Linked DNA regions of Homo sapiens: region 1 is linked to region 2. Evidence: promoter capture Hi-C in 16 types of primary human blood cells and fetal thymus (Javierre and others, 2016). All regions are on one chromosome and are shown on one strand. The core of a region is centred on a gene start or on the middle of the fragment in contact, and the rest is flanking DNA. Distances in the headings are between cores, read along the strand shown. Region 1 overlaps GRIK1 (glutamate ionotropic receptor kainate type subunit 1). Region 2 holds the start of GRIK1-AS2 (GRIK1 antisense RNA 2).

Region 1 (7,342 bases), core at 3,196-5,695, 260 kb after region 2:
CTTCAGTTCTTAATATCATCTACAAGGCTCTATATAGCCTGGCATTTGCATACCGTTTATTACATATACTACAGCTTGCCTTCTTTGGGTTCCTTAAATAGACCAAGTTGTGTGTGTATATATATATATATATATATATATTTTTTTTTTTTTCCACGATCTTCACCTTAGCTGTTTGGTATACGTAAAATGTGTTTTTCCTAGTCCTTAGGATGACTTGATTCTTCTTAAATGTCGTCTCTTATGGAAGTTCATTTATTCCACCCTATTCAAATAGATTTTCGGAACTTTCTCCCATGCCAAATGTTTCTTTATCATAACACTCTGTCATTTCCCAAACTGACTCTGTGAAGGCAGAACAGAACCCAAATCTGTTTTGTTAACCAAGGTCTACAAACACACATAGTATAGTTCCTGGCATATAATAGTTGCCAAAATATTTATTAAATGAATAAATGAATGATTAAGCATATTGTTTATACTTTTTCTTTTCATGTCCCAGACTGTATTGTACTTCCTAATATTTTTCTTGTATTTTATTAGGTTTTAAAACCTTTGAAGTAAAAATAAAACATTTTGCATTGTTCATCTTGGTATCCCTTAGCTTCTAGTATGGTGCCAAACATTCATGAGATTAATAAATGTTTGCTGAATTAAATCGATTTGAATTAAACCTTCAGAACAATATTAAGTTATTGCCAGGACATCACAGATGGTAAGTGCAATTTCCTCTGCTAATAGCTTCCAAGGTTGATGATGAGATAAAATCAGTCGAGCATCCATCAATAGGGGAAAAGCTCTTAAAAACTAAATCCTCTAAGTCATTGTAGTGTTGCCTCCTTTGTTATACTTTGTTTCCTGCGCCCATCCTTCCTTAGAGCGTCAGACACAGTTCTTATGTACTACTTCATTAAGGATAAGTGTAGAGTGATGTCAGGAAGGAGGAAAGGCCAATAAAAGGCCGTTTGTTTTTAGCAATGTTCCTCTTAACCACCAAAGACAATGTGTCCATGTGCTTATCCCCTTCTCTCTGCTTAACTCCTTGACTCCAATTTCTCAGCTTACCTCTAATGAGAGAGTGTGCCTTAAATTCGAGATGAGTGCCGGTAAGGGTTCTTAAAAGCTGGCACATTTCAAGTGCATGGTGAGAAAACTACCCCAGGATTCTGCAGGTGTTAATTATGGTGGAAGCTAGCATAAAGATGCAGAGTGTAGAGCGGCTTGCTGCTCTGATCTTCATGCCCTCTGGTGCCCTCTGGTGCCTCTAAGAGAGAATGACTGAACCCAACAGTGGATGGCCCCTGTTACTGGAGATACTCTCTCTCACCCTCTCATATGTGTGTGGAGTGAGAGAACAAACAGCCCCCATGAAACTCACGTTTTTTAGAGTGCAGAAATCTGTGCAAATCTTAAAATAGCATATGCCCGTGAAGTTTATGTCATCCCTTTTTGGTTCGGTTTCGCTGACTTTCAGAAGGATCATGATATCTTCCTTACTGCATTAACATTTGCTGACAGAAGATCCTTAAAAACTATCTCAAATATTTGTTATCTCTTTTTCATAAACAAAATCATCTTCTCTTTGCCATAAATGGAACATTTATGTAGATCCTGGGTAGCATTTCTTAAATCTCACAGATATGAACATAATTCAGCAGATGTAAATTTTTTTTTGTTAGGACTACAAATTAAGCAGTTTGAAGGGTATTTAAAAAATCTCTATCTTTTCGATGTGTGGCTCTGGGTGTTATCCATTTCTAAGGTGTTCAAGATTAAAGATAATACTGCTATCGCCCTAATGTTCTAACTGCATACACACCCTGTACCCAATCTCAGATATCCTCTCCCCTGGCCACTCCTATTCAAAGCAACAAGGACAACCACCACCACAACAATGAACAAAAAACGAATCCCAGGAATGGATAAGGTGGTCGCAGATGCCACAGGTTATTGATGGAAGTAATTTTGGAGTCCTTGTTTAGTGCTCATAACATCTTGTATTCTTGGCCTCCATCTGGACTCTGCCAGTTCCTTAGTCTTAGCAATGTACCAGGCACATAAATTCTCTTTATTAAGAACCAAAACTACTTTTTTCATTTTATGTAAACTCATAAGTCACATCTTCAGCTCATTTTGAAGTAAGAATCTTCAGTATAACAGGGGAAATAGTATAACTACTACAAGGTAACTAACAAGTAACAATGTTTGTATAAAAGCCAGAGAGTATCTCAGCAGGAAATTTAATATTTTAGAAGAACAGACTTTTAGAGCAAACTTTTACTTACGATATTAACACAAATGAATTCAAGATGCCAATAATATTATTCCTACCTTTTATTACTGTCAGTCTGTACAAACTCTTAGCTTATTTGCTTTACAGATCAGTCTGTGAAAATGAATCAACTAGAAATGATTTCTTTTTTTTTTTTTCTTGAGATGGAGTCTCTCTCTGTTGCCCAGACTGGAGTACAATGGTAAGATCTTGGCTCACTGCAACCTCCGCCTCCCAGGTCCAATCAATTCTCCTGCCTCAGCCTCTTGAGTAGCTGGAACTACAAGCGTGAGCCACCACACCAAGCTAACTTTTGTATTTTTGGTAGAGTCAGGGTTTCACCACGTTGGCCAGGCTGGTCTCGAACTCCTGACCTCAAGTGATCCGCCCACCTCGGCCTCCCAAAGTGCTGGAATTACAGGCATGAGCCACATCCCCCGGCCTAGAAATGATTTTTTTGAGACAAGAGAGTAGCAATCTTTGAGCAACACAGATTGTTTACAAAGGCAATAATAGACAAAAGGGAGATATAAATCAATAAATGTGAACAACATCCTCTTCCCATAACATGGCATCTTCTAGGATCTCACTTTCAGTCTGTTCTTTACCTTTGCTCCCTTTTCTAGCCCTATAATGCAGTGGAAATGCCAGAGTCTGAATGACTTTAGCTTGAGTCCTGGTTCTGACTCCTACCAGCTGTGTGATCACAGTTCCTCTTCTGCAAAACAGAATCTAATAACTAACTTCATGAGCTATGAGGAGATTCATGTACAGCACCTATTCCAGAGCCAGGGCTACTAGTCTACCTCATGGCCTCAACTCTCTTAGCTACTTAAACATTTCCAAGAAGAGCGTCTTTAGCACTGACTTCTCTTCTGAACTGGTGATCTCTAATTGCAACATAAATCTTGATGTCACCCCTTGGACGAAATGTCCTGTCTTCAATACATGTTGTTTAGAATCAAACATATTATCTGTTTCCCCAAATCTGCACTGACTCCTGGTATACTGGTTTCTCTTAAAGACACTACCATTCCGTTCACTTACTTAGATGTGACATATCAGTGCCATCTTTGATCCTTCTCCCTGATTTCTTACCTCTATGGAAAAATTTTCAAGTCTGACTATTTCTCCTTCCACAGTTTCTCACATTTCTTCCCACCCCTCCATTCCCATTGTCAGCACTAAGTTCACAGTTGTCTCTGATGTCAGCCTCAGCTCACATCTCTTTTGTTCTTGAAGGATTTTCCTTAATGCTGCTTTGTCACTTCTTTCTTCCTTCTACCTTGATGCTTGACATTCAAATTATTTAGGAATCTGACCCTACTTAAATAGTTAGTTCTCTCCCACAGAGCACTTTTCACTTTCCTTGCGCTTAAATGCAAATAGTGACTGTTACTATTCACATCTGAGTAACTTGGGCACCTCTACCCACTGTTCCTCCTACCAAGAAGGCCCCCTACCTGTAGAAATTCTATACATTTCCCAAAATTCAGACTAAAATCTATGTACTCTGCAGACTTCCTTCATCCTGCAACTTCCAGCTAAACTTCAATGGCCCCTTATCAGTTCCACTTCCTACCTCCATTCTCTGTACATCTTGTCTCTCTTACTAGACTGGAAGATACTCGAGTGCACTACTGATATTTTCTTCCTAGTGGGCACATTGTAGGCAGTAAATAAATGTGGCCTGAAAGCTGAAGCAAATGAAGGAACAGCCACATAAATATGCAAGTCATTTAGGAAACTTTACATTTATCAAAATGTTTTTCAAGTGGTGAATGCTTTACACAAAGTAAAGTGTTATGTTATTTCATTATGATATAGGAGAATATTTTCTTATGTCAGTTTGAGGAATAATTTTTTCCATCTTGGCACTTGTGTCAAATTACTACATTTCAAAGTTAGATTTGAAATTGCAGTAGGGATATATTTTTATTTTAGTGCTTCTTTAAGTTATAAAGCTTCCCTGATAAATATACCAAATTTATCAATAAACTATGTAGAGTGTCTAGATAAAAACCTTTTGGTAATGTAATTCATTCTGATCTTATATCCCAAAGCTTTAAGATTTGCATAAAATCAACATATCTTCTCACTCTTAAAGTACTATTTTGTGTCATTCTAAAAGTAGTGAAAATATTCTTTTATATAAAAGGAATTGTAGCCTCACTGAACAATTTAAGTAAACCACTTTTCTTCATTCTCTACTGGCAAAATATTTTATGTTATCTTTAACACTCTCACAATTCCAAGAAAGTAACTATGACATTTGTGCCATAATGAAGCTTCCTCTCAAGTAAGTAAAGGCTCAATACTTGAAAGAAAAGTCTTAACATTTACATAGCAGTACAGGGGTTCTCAACCTCAGCACTATTGACATTTTGGTTCTGATTTTTTGTTGTTGTTGACTGTTCCGTACATCGTAGGATATGTGGCAGCACCCTTGGCCAAGAATGACTTCTGATGTGACTAAGAACTAAGTGACTTAGTCCTCCAGCTACCTTTTGAATTCAAAAGTCAATTCTGAAAGTCTGTTTATTAGGAAGCCAAGTATCTCTTAGTACTCAGATATCTCTTGGGGGCAAAATTGCCTCCAGTGGAGAATCATTTCAGTAGTAAAAGTATTTACTAATTCTACTTACTGTGTTTTTATAAATTAATCTCCCCAATCTAGCTTTTTGGAGAAAAATAGGCCAACTATGCTTTCCTCTAGTCAACTGCATATGACTCATGGGAATGTCTGATTTCCTCCATTTATTAGCATATTGATAGCAAACTCTTCAGGAGCATTCACCAAATCAACGTGTATTAAATATCCATTCTGCATTGGGAAAATAGATGAAAGAAACACAGACCAAAACCCCTGCTTTCCTGAAGTTTACATACTAGTGGAAGAAGCAAGACAATAAACAAACATATAAAGGAAACATATAGCATGTCAGAGGGAGATAAGTTTAAGGCAAAAATTAGAAGAACAGTAAAAAGAATAGGTGATGCTGTGTAAGCAGCATGGGTGGGTCACAATTTTAAATAGGATGGCCAGGGTTGTCCTCACTGCCCCCATGACATCTGAGCAAAGGCCTGAAGGAAGTCAGTAGTGAGCGGCCTAGTCCATCTGTGTTGCTATACAGGAATACCTAATGCTGAGTAATTTATATAAGTTTATTTAGCTCACGGTTCTGCAGGCTGTACAAGAAGCATGATGCCTTCTGGTGAGGGTCTCAGGGAGCTTCCACTTGTGGTAGAAGGGGAAGGGGAGCTGCATCACATGGCAAGAGAGGAGGAAAGAGAGAGAGAGAAGCGAGTGGGGCTGCGCTGTTTTAAATAACCAGCTCTCACATAAACTAATAGAGCAAGAATGTACTCTTTGCTTTGGTGATAGCACCAAGCTATTCATGAGATATTTGTTCCCATGACCCAAACACCCCCCCACCAAGCCCCACCTCCAACATTTGGGATCAGACTTCAACATGAGATTTGGAGGGGACAAATATCCAAATGATATCAGGGAGTGAGCTTTCAAACACTTGGCAGATGAGCTTTCCAGGTAGAGGGAAGAGAGGCCTTGAAGAAATAGCCTGCCAAAAATAATGAGAAAAAAAAACAAGAAATTACTATGCCTGGAATGGACTTGGGTGGGGGAATGAGGTAGACAAAATTCCCAGAGAATGGAGGCACACATGAAGATCATATAAGCCCCTTTGGTCATTATAAACAGTGAATAAATGACTGTCAGGAAATATCATATATAAAATAGTGGAAATGATGTTTTCTCATCTATTTGCTTTAGTTGCACTCAGGAACTAGGATCATGATGGTTCAAGGATCCGGGGAGTGATGTCATTCGTTTGTCTTCCCCAGCAAGGCCCAGGCTTCTGATCATTTCTTTCACTCTTCCTTGATCAAAGTTAAACAGTCAAGGGGTCATCATTTGAGATTTTTCTAAGAAACTAGCTGGCTGAACTGATGTAATGCATGTGAAGTTGCGAATGGTTTAGTAATGCTTCATCCAGGGATATTTGCATCATAGAAAAAGGCCTCTTAAAAATGGACTTTTAGAATTGACTTTTGAATTCAAAAAGTAAATCATTAGCTGGAGAACTAAGTCACTTTTGCAAACCAGGGCATGAGCTGTTGAGGGCACTTTGGGCCTTTTCAAGACCTGAACTTGGGCTCTAGATCTGACATCATAGACAGTCATCTTGTAGTCTCAAACTATCAAACTAGTATGTATTGGAACCCTGTGAGATATCACTCATTGTCCTTAGGGCTAGGGAAGCAGTGGTGAAAAAGCTAATTCCTAGCCCATTGAGATATTTTATTACGGAGTGAAAGAGACACAAATTAAAGTAGTAAAATAAAAAAGAATAATATTGGTTACATATAAAGTCTATAGAGACAATTAAAATACAGGAAGTACTACACAGTCTGTCTGCAACTTCAGATGGCCAGCCAAAAATACCATCTTTAAAGAGTGATATTTAAGCTGAGATCTGAATGTCAAGAAGGAGCATGAGGAAGAGATTTCCAGCAGAGGAAATAACTAGACCAAAGGCAGCATATAACTTGACATAAGAAATAAGCCCAGCATCTTAGACCAAGTACAGTATATTGCCAGTGAAGTAGGCAGAAGCCAGGTGGGCCTTGTAGCTCATGATAAGGTATTTGAATTTTATTTGTATGTAATGAGCAGCCAAAGGAGGGTTTTAAGCAGATTAGTGGGATGTTCTAGTTTGTGTTCTTAGAAGATTAGGGATAGGGGTTGAGAATAGATCAGCTGGGGAAAGAGGCATAGGAAAGACTTGAAACCCAAGACAAGTAAGAAGGTTATGAAACCAAATAAACAACCCAGATGAGAGGATGGTGATGGTGAAGGTGAAAAAATTAACTGATTGGTGATGTTTTTGGAGACACGATCGGTAGGATTTTCTGACAGATGAAATGGGAGAGATTTTTTTTTCAAGAAGAATCAAGAGCAGCTATCTCCTAAAGTTTTGGCTTGAACAACTGGGTGGTTTGAGGAATGTTTGGTAAAGGATGGAAGACTGGAATTGGGGGGAAACACAT
Region 2 (6,809 bases), core at 908-3,407:
CTTTCCTTTGCTATCTGCACTAAAAGTGCAGAAGCTAAGAGATCATTGCTGCTGCCAATCCAATCAACTAAGTCCCAAGTCCTATTCAGTTTAAACTTTCCTTCTTAAAATGAGAAAAGGGTGACCATTTTTTCCCCTATTGTCTCTACAGAGGGACCTACAGAAGGTCCTTTAAATGTAGACTAGAAGAGTATCAAAATATAGTAAAGGTCAGGCTATTCCTGGGAAATGTACAGTATATATATGCTGAGTGACCTCAGTCTTCTGTTTCCAAACCTGTAATCAGCAAAACAGAACTGTGTATGTGTGTGTGTGTGTGTGTGTATGTGCACGCATGTGTGTACCTGTGTCTTTTAAACCCAAGTAGTCATGTGGCTTTATCTGTTACTTGAAGTAAATGAATATGTTCTCAGGAAATGAATGTCTCCCTTTAAAGAAGTCAGATCTCATGATTCATGTGTGCTGGAGACAGAGGTACAGTTAAGAAGATGCCTGGACATTTGACATTTCAGTACTGTTCTACGAACTAGGAGGAGTGCCTCCAGGGAGCGGAACCTCAGTTTTCAAGCTTCACAGTGAAAGCAGACAGTAGTCATTTACCAGTGAGAAGTAGTGGAGGGTGGATCAGTTACTTGTGGGGAGGAGCACTCAATATCTAAATTACCTGGCCCTGATTTCTTTCACTTTGTAAGCTGGCACAAGGGAGCAGCCATGTGTTATCTAGGACAACTGAGAAAAGCATTTGAAAATGAGTGCCCAAATGACATTAAGCAAACTTTTTTTAAAAAGCGATGCAATAAAAAGGGTATTCAGAGAGCCACTAGTATCTATCTTCTAAACCTAGACAGTGATTCATGTAAACTCAACATCTAAAGTGGCTGAGGGAAATAATCAGGTATCTAGGGCAAAGATAAAGGTATATGTGTTTCCTGTATTACGAACCTTATATAACAAATATTTTAGTGAGGGATGTTGTAAAGATTGCTACCTTCCTCTTTTGGAAAGAATTTTGGGTGAATAATACTATTCTAAAATAAGTCAGAGTACGAGGAAAGCTTTTGGGATTTCAATATGATGAAGGTGAATTTTTGTTTAAGTTGGAGACTTCTGGAAAAAGTGCAATGTGTTTGTTGGGTCTGAGTGGGTCGCCTGTGCTAGAACTCAGGTTACCGTGAATTTTTGACGGAGTTATAACACAAAACAGCACACCACAGTATATACAACTTACAATGTGGAACATGATGGGCTACCAGGAGGGAAGAGGCATGAAGGCATGGAGGATCAAGATCAGAAAGTTACAACCCTCGGGAGTGTGTGTGGCTCTTGCAGTTTAGTGACAAATAGAGGACATCCCCCCTCCCCTTTATATAATTTCAAAGCTTGGATTCCATTCCCTGGGACATTTGTATTAGATTAATTCAAAGTGCCCAGAGTCTCAAGATGGATTAGTGTAATAGGTTTTTTTTTTTTTTTTTCTTTTTCTGGGTGCCGGTTAGGTTCATCTATTTACCAGTAAAATTTTAGTGAGGAAACCAGATCGCCTTCTACATGCACTTAGTAGCCTTGTTCACTGAAGATTAAAACAAGGCTTTTAAACCTATGCTTTGAAAACTTAAAAAGAAAAAATTTTTGAATTCATCACTGAGTACTACTAAGAGGGGGACAAGGTTTTTGGCTACAGGGAGAAACTTGTGTACACTTTCTGTGACATAGCTGATAATTTGAAAGATGAAAGTGAACCTGACAAAACTGTTCAAGTTGAACAACCTGAAGCAATTTAAGGTCCATTCATCAGTCCATAGATTTTTTTTACCAAGTAGTTTTAGAGAGAGAGAGACAGAGAGGGAAGGAAGGAGAGGAGGAAGAGAAAGAGAGAGAAGAGATGAAAGAAAATGTTTGCTTACCACGGGGACATTTCTCTGATCCAAATGTTTTTAATGTCTCATATTTGCTTACATAAATCTATGCACATTCATTGGCAACATGGCACTGTATAATAAACTATAAAATAGTGGGTGTTATAATTCACAAGATAATCTCATTTCCTTTCCAAGGTCCCTAACGTTTGTGTCCTCTTTAGAACTGTGGCTCTAAAACAAATTGCAAGACAGTATACTCTGATGAAGATATCACACAAAACAAAAGATAGCTCATGAGAAAAGGAAATTTCTGAAAATGGTTCATATTTTGTGGTGGTGACATTACAGGAGGTGTCCTAGCCTTCTGAGGCTGTAGCCTATCTGACTAGTCTCATGGATCAAATCTATTGTGATTTTTATCCCCCTTAAGGAAAATATTTAGTGATTTGAGAAGGAATATAAATAGGTCAGTGTCTCCTTCTGTTACAGTTGCCTGCTTTCAATCCTAACAAGGACTGATCCTGCCTGGGAGAAACAAAAATAATCTTGGGGGAAATATTTAATCCATAATTATTTAATCCACTGCAAACCTGTTTTCAATTCACAGGTGATGTTGTTGAGAGAGATAACATATTCAATCACTCCTCTCTCTTTACATGGAACTTCCCTTCTAAACTGCAATTGGAGAGCTACAGGTCTGGTAACATTGGAAGGGCACAGGCCTTTCCAATGACATTCCCCATCCCACCCCCAGGTTTCCTGCAGTTGTTGTCAGAGTACAAACCTTCTTCCACACTTTATACAAGTGTTTAGACACTTCGCCAGCAGCCTTGGTTTTCAGAGAGAAAAATAAAATAAAAACAGCACTTAATTAAAATGGAGCGTGAAACCCAGAAGGAATCATGGTGTGTGAGTGCTTAGAGTGTTACAGTTCCCACCCATTGTTTGGAATTTGCATCTTAATTCAATATAAAGCCTGACAATAGGTACAGCAAAGAGACGAATCAAGACTTGGGTCTCACAGAAGTTACCTGGTGGTAAGACTCAATTTTTACTTTTCCTTTCACACACCAAGAAATGCCTTAAAGTGCTTTTCAATGTATACAGGTATGCTGCAGTATTAAGGGTCTTCATTGTTCCTTAAGAAGACCCTTTTAAGGCATTGGTAACTAAAATCAATCAATTAACCAACCAACCAGCAAATCAATCAATACACACACACACACACAAACACACACACACACAGACACACACATATAAAGAAGAAGTATGCTTGATGACTTGTTCTTTGATTATGGGTTTCTGGGCAGTAGAAATTTGAGTGAAAGTGAGAATGGGATTTTTCTAATAATTTTCCCTATTGACTCCAAGAGAGGCTGACATAAAAAGATTGGGCATTTCCTCCCTCGGCTCCTGAGAGAGATGTGTTGGCTTCCCTCATTGCCTTAAGGCCCAATCAGCCTTCTCAGGAATTGAGCCCAAGACACCTGAAGAAAGAAAAGTTATTGCAAACAATGAAGAGATAAGAAACCAACACAAAACACTTTCATCTAATTTGATTTTGCCTTTGATGGAAAAACACCAATGCAATGTGCATAATATTACGGTGTATAGATAGCTGTGAAAGCATAACAATAGCTCCATCTATTTCATCATTCACCTAGCCAAAAAGATGTTTCCTTAACAGCTTTTCTTCCCCCTTCAGTGCTATACATAAGAGGAGAACAGAGTTGGGGAAAGACTCATGCTTCGAGAAGCAGACATTTTCTTAAAAAAATTATAGGCTTTTAGATCATAACAAGTATTTTTTTTCTTTTGTTCCCTCCAGCCAACATCCCATGCACCATCGTGGAGACTGGCTGGATGCCCTGTGCTCTATCAGGGCATGTCAGACCAACAGAGGGGCAAATCAGAGTGAAGAGGAAGCCAGAAGATGGGAGAGACATTTTTGAAGTGAGTAACCTGCATGTATAATGTGTACTCTCAAAACTGCAAACAAATTATTTTCCTCAAATATTTCACACTGGTGGTCACCTTCTAATACATTCAGCCTAAATGATCTTTGTTTCCATTAATGTTTTTTTGAGGGGGAGGGGTAGTTAGCACCTGCAAAAAAAATGTGTCCTGGTTAACAAAAGCAAGAAAACGGAAATGAAAACCTTACCTCATTTTAAAAAATCAACCCAACTAATCTAATTAATCAAGCAATCGATTGTTCCCAAAGCCACTCTTACATTAAGCACACTGTCTTATTCACTATAGTGGGAAAAAAAATGTCAGATTATAGAGTTTTCTGTTGAGGTGATTGCTTTGGGGGTTTCAATTGTTTTTCTATAAGATTGTCAGTGCAAAATCTTCAAACTGTAAGTGTTAATTCTGACGTATAGTCATGAATATTAAAATTGGCATAGTAAAATATATTGAGGAGCCAAATTCTTTTATCATTATTATTTAACCAAATAGTTTACATTGGAATTACTCTAAATAATAACTAAAGTAGAACTTTAAACATGGAGAGATTCAGAATTACAACTAAAATAATCCTAAAATGAGAACCCAACATTAAAATACAGTTTTTTGGCATTTGTCCTAAAATTAAGAATGCAAAGTTAATTTGCTCCAGTAAGTCTCTTCTATCCTACTTTATTCTGTCTGTCACCAATCTCAAAATGGAATAAAATGTGCAATTAAAATTAATTTCTGGGTAACCCTTGGATGCCATTCCATCGATAAACCATTGATAGCTTCTGCTTTTCCAAGTCTAAACTCAATTTGTTAAAAGCTTTAAGACATGGGCCTAATGACACCCAACTCTAGGGTTATATATGTAATAATATAATCACACTTGCTATGTAAATGAAGCACAATAGAAACACTAGTTAGTACTGCTATTACTAAGACATGAAATTTAAGAATCTAGCACATCAACTTCTATCTGCAGAAAAAAGAAAGAGAGATAAAAAACTGGATGTAAAAGAACATGCTTAGAGAATCACTTCATCATTCACCTACTTGTCTTTGCAATTTAGTAAAAATGCCTGAACAATGTTCATTTGTTATTTTATTTATTTATTGTTAAGGAGGTTACCTTTTCAGTTCCTTCCTCTTTGAGACTAATAATGTCCAGATCAAAATCCTTCCTCAAGCCATTGGTTTTATTAAAGGTGATATGCCCAGTCAAGCCATCCCACCGGGCCTGTGGACAAGAAGAAATGTGGCTGTTATTGTTAAACATTTATCATAATTCCTGAGACCATCAAAATTATAATACCTCAAATTCATCACAGTATCCAATTATTTGTTTTCATCATGCTGTTATAAACCATTGCATTGGTTCAGCGACAAGATAGCAGAACACATCGTCTTTTTATTAGCACTCATTTATTCTGTCAATTCTAACATCCTAACCCAGTCAAACCTGTCATCGTGGCTACCTAAATGGACAGTATGGAAAGAATTGCCGTAAAACAGTCTGCACACGGAATACACAAAATCTGAGAAATCACAATATTCTGTTTTCCAAGGTCAATCCAAATTCCCTTTGAGATATGGCTGAGTGGAAGTGAGTCCCTGCTTTTTCTTTCTCTGTGAAAAGAATATAGACTAATATAGTCCAATGATGTATTGCAGTTTTTAGGCTGTTTATGACTTAGCGTGTTTGCACCATTTGGGCATTATAATTTCCCGTGGCTGCTGTAGCAAGTAATCACAAACGTGGGTGCTCAAAACAACAGAAATTTATTTTCTCAAGGTTATGGAGGCCTGAAATCCAAAATCAGTGTTAACTGGGTGGAATTAATGTGTCAGCGGGACCGTGCTCTCTCTGGAGGCTCGAGGGAAGACCCTATTCTTTGCCTCCTTCTGCTTCTGGTGGCTTCTGGCATTTCTCCTTCTCTTGTGGTTGCATCACTCCAATCTCTGCCTCAGTGGTCACATTTCCTCCTCCCCTGCTGTCTGCATAAAAGCTCCCTCTGCAAGGTGGAGGTTGTGGTGAGCCGAGATCCTTCCACTGCGCTCCAGGAGCCTGGGCAACAGAGCAAGACTCTGTCACAAACAAACAAACAAACAAACAAAAAGGGTCGGGCGCAGTGGCTTGCGCCTGTAATCCCAGCACTTCGGGATGCCGAGGTGGGCGGAGATCGAGACCATCCTGGCTAACACGGTGAAACCCCATCTCTACTAAAAATACAAAATATTAGCCAGGCGTGGTGGCGCATGCTTGTAATCCCAGCTACTCGGGAGGCTGAGTCAGGAGAATCGCTTGAACCCCAGAGGCAGAGGTTGCAGTGAGCCGAGATTATGCCATTGCACTCCAGCCTGGCGACAGAGCAAGACTCCGTCTAAAACAAAAACAAAAACAAAAAAACTCCTTCTGCTTCTGTCTTATAAAGACACTTGTGATTGTAAATACAATCTAAATAGAACTCACCTGGATAATTTCCCCATCTCAAAAATCCTTAATCACCTATGCAAAGGCCTTTTTGCTATATAAATTAACATTTACAGGTTCCAGGGATGAGGACATGGGTAACTTTTGAGGGTGCCGGTCTTCTTCCTACCCTACATATCAACATCATTTCAAATAACAAAAAATTCACAATAGTCTGCCTTTCACAGAACTCACATTGGGTATCTCTGGTGGTTTTATTAAATAAAAAGCGGTGGCCCTTGGGAGAGTCTTCAGCTTCAATCATTAGGTGATTTTTGGCAACCTTGTTGATTTGAGTTTCACTTACAAATAGGGATAAAGGAAAACTCAGATCTTTGTATCCACTTAGCTGTTTTTCTCCCTCTTGACTTTACCAAATTCATTAGACATGCATAAAATGGGAAGATTCTGAAGAATTACACTGTATTTGCAGTTATTTGCGCCACGTATATATGTTGAATGTATTTACCCATTTGGCCAAGAGGCAGAGCAATGCAGTGAATTTTCCATACCTCTAGGGC

The links. The method cuts DNA at HindIII sites, captures the fragments that hold promoters and counts their contacts. A CHiCAGO score of 5 or more calls a contact.
Region 1: a contact is called between a fragment that was not itself captured here and the fragment with the promoter of GRIK1-AS2 in region 2, in 4 of 17 cell types (megakaryocytes, M1 macrophages, M0 macrophages and 1 more). The highest score is 8.0, in megakaryocytes.

The regions. Positions count from the first base shown.
Region 1 is chr21:29,848,640-29,855,981 of GRCh38, forward strand. All of the region lies in intron 1 of GRIK1 (glutamate ionotropic receptor kainate type subunit 1), which reads right to left. Among named protein-coding and RNA genes, the nearest start is that of GRIK1, 88 kb to the right of the region's middle. The HindIII fragment of the contact is 225 bases long and covers 4,334-4,558 here.
Region 2 is chr21:29,593,883-29,600,691 of GRCh38, forward strand. It overlaps GRIK1-AS2 (GRIK1 antisense RNA 2), which reads left to right and starts at 2,158. Exons shown (of 3, transcript NR_033368.1): 1 at 2,158-2,896; 2 at 3,688-3,812. GRIK1 (glutamate ionotropic receptor kainate type subunit 1) reads right to left here. Exons shown (of 18, transcript NM_001330994.2): 8 at 4,948-5,055; 9 at 2,644-2,688. The HindIII fragment of the contact is 3,262 bases long and covers 1,378-4,639 here.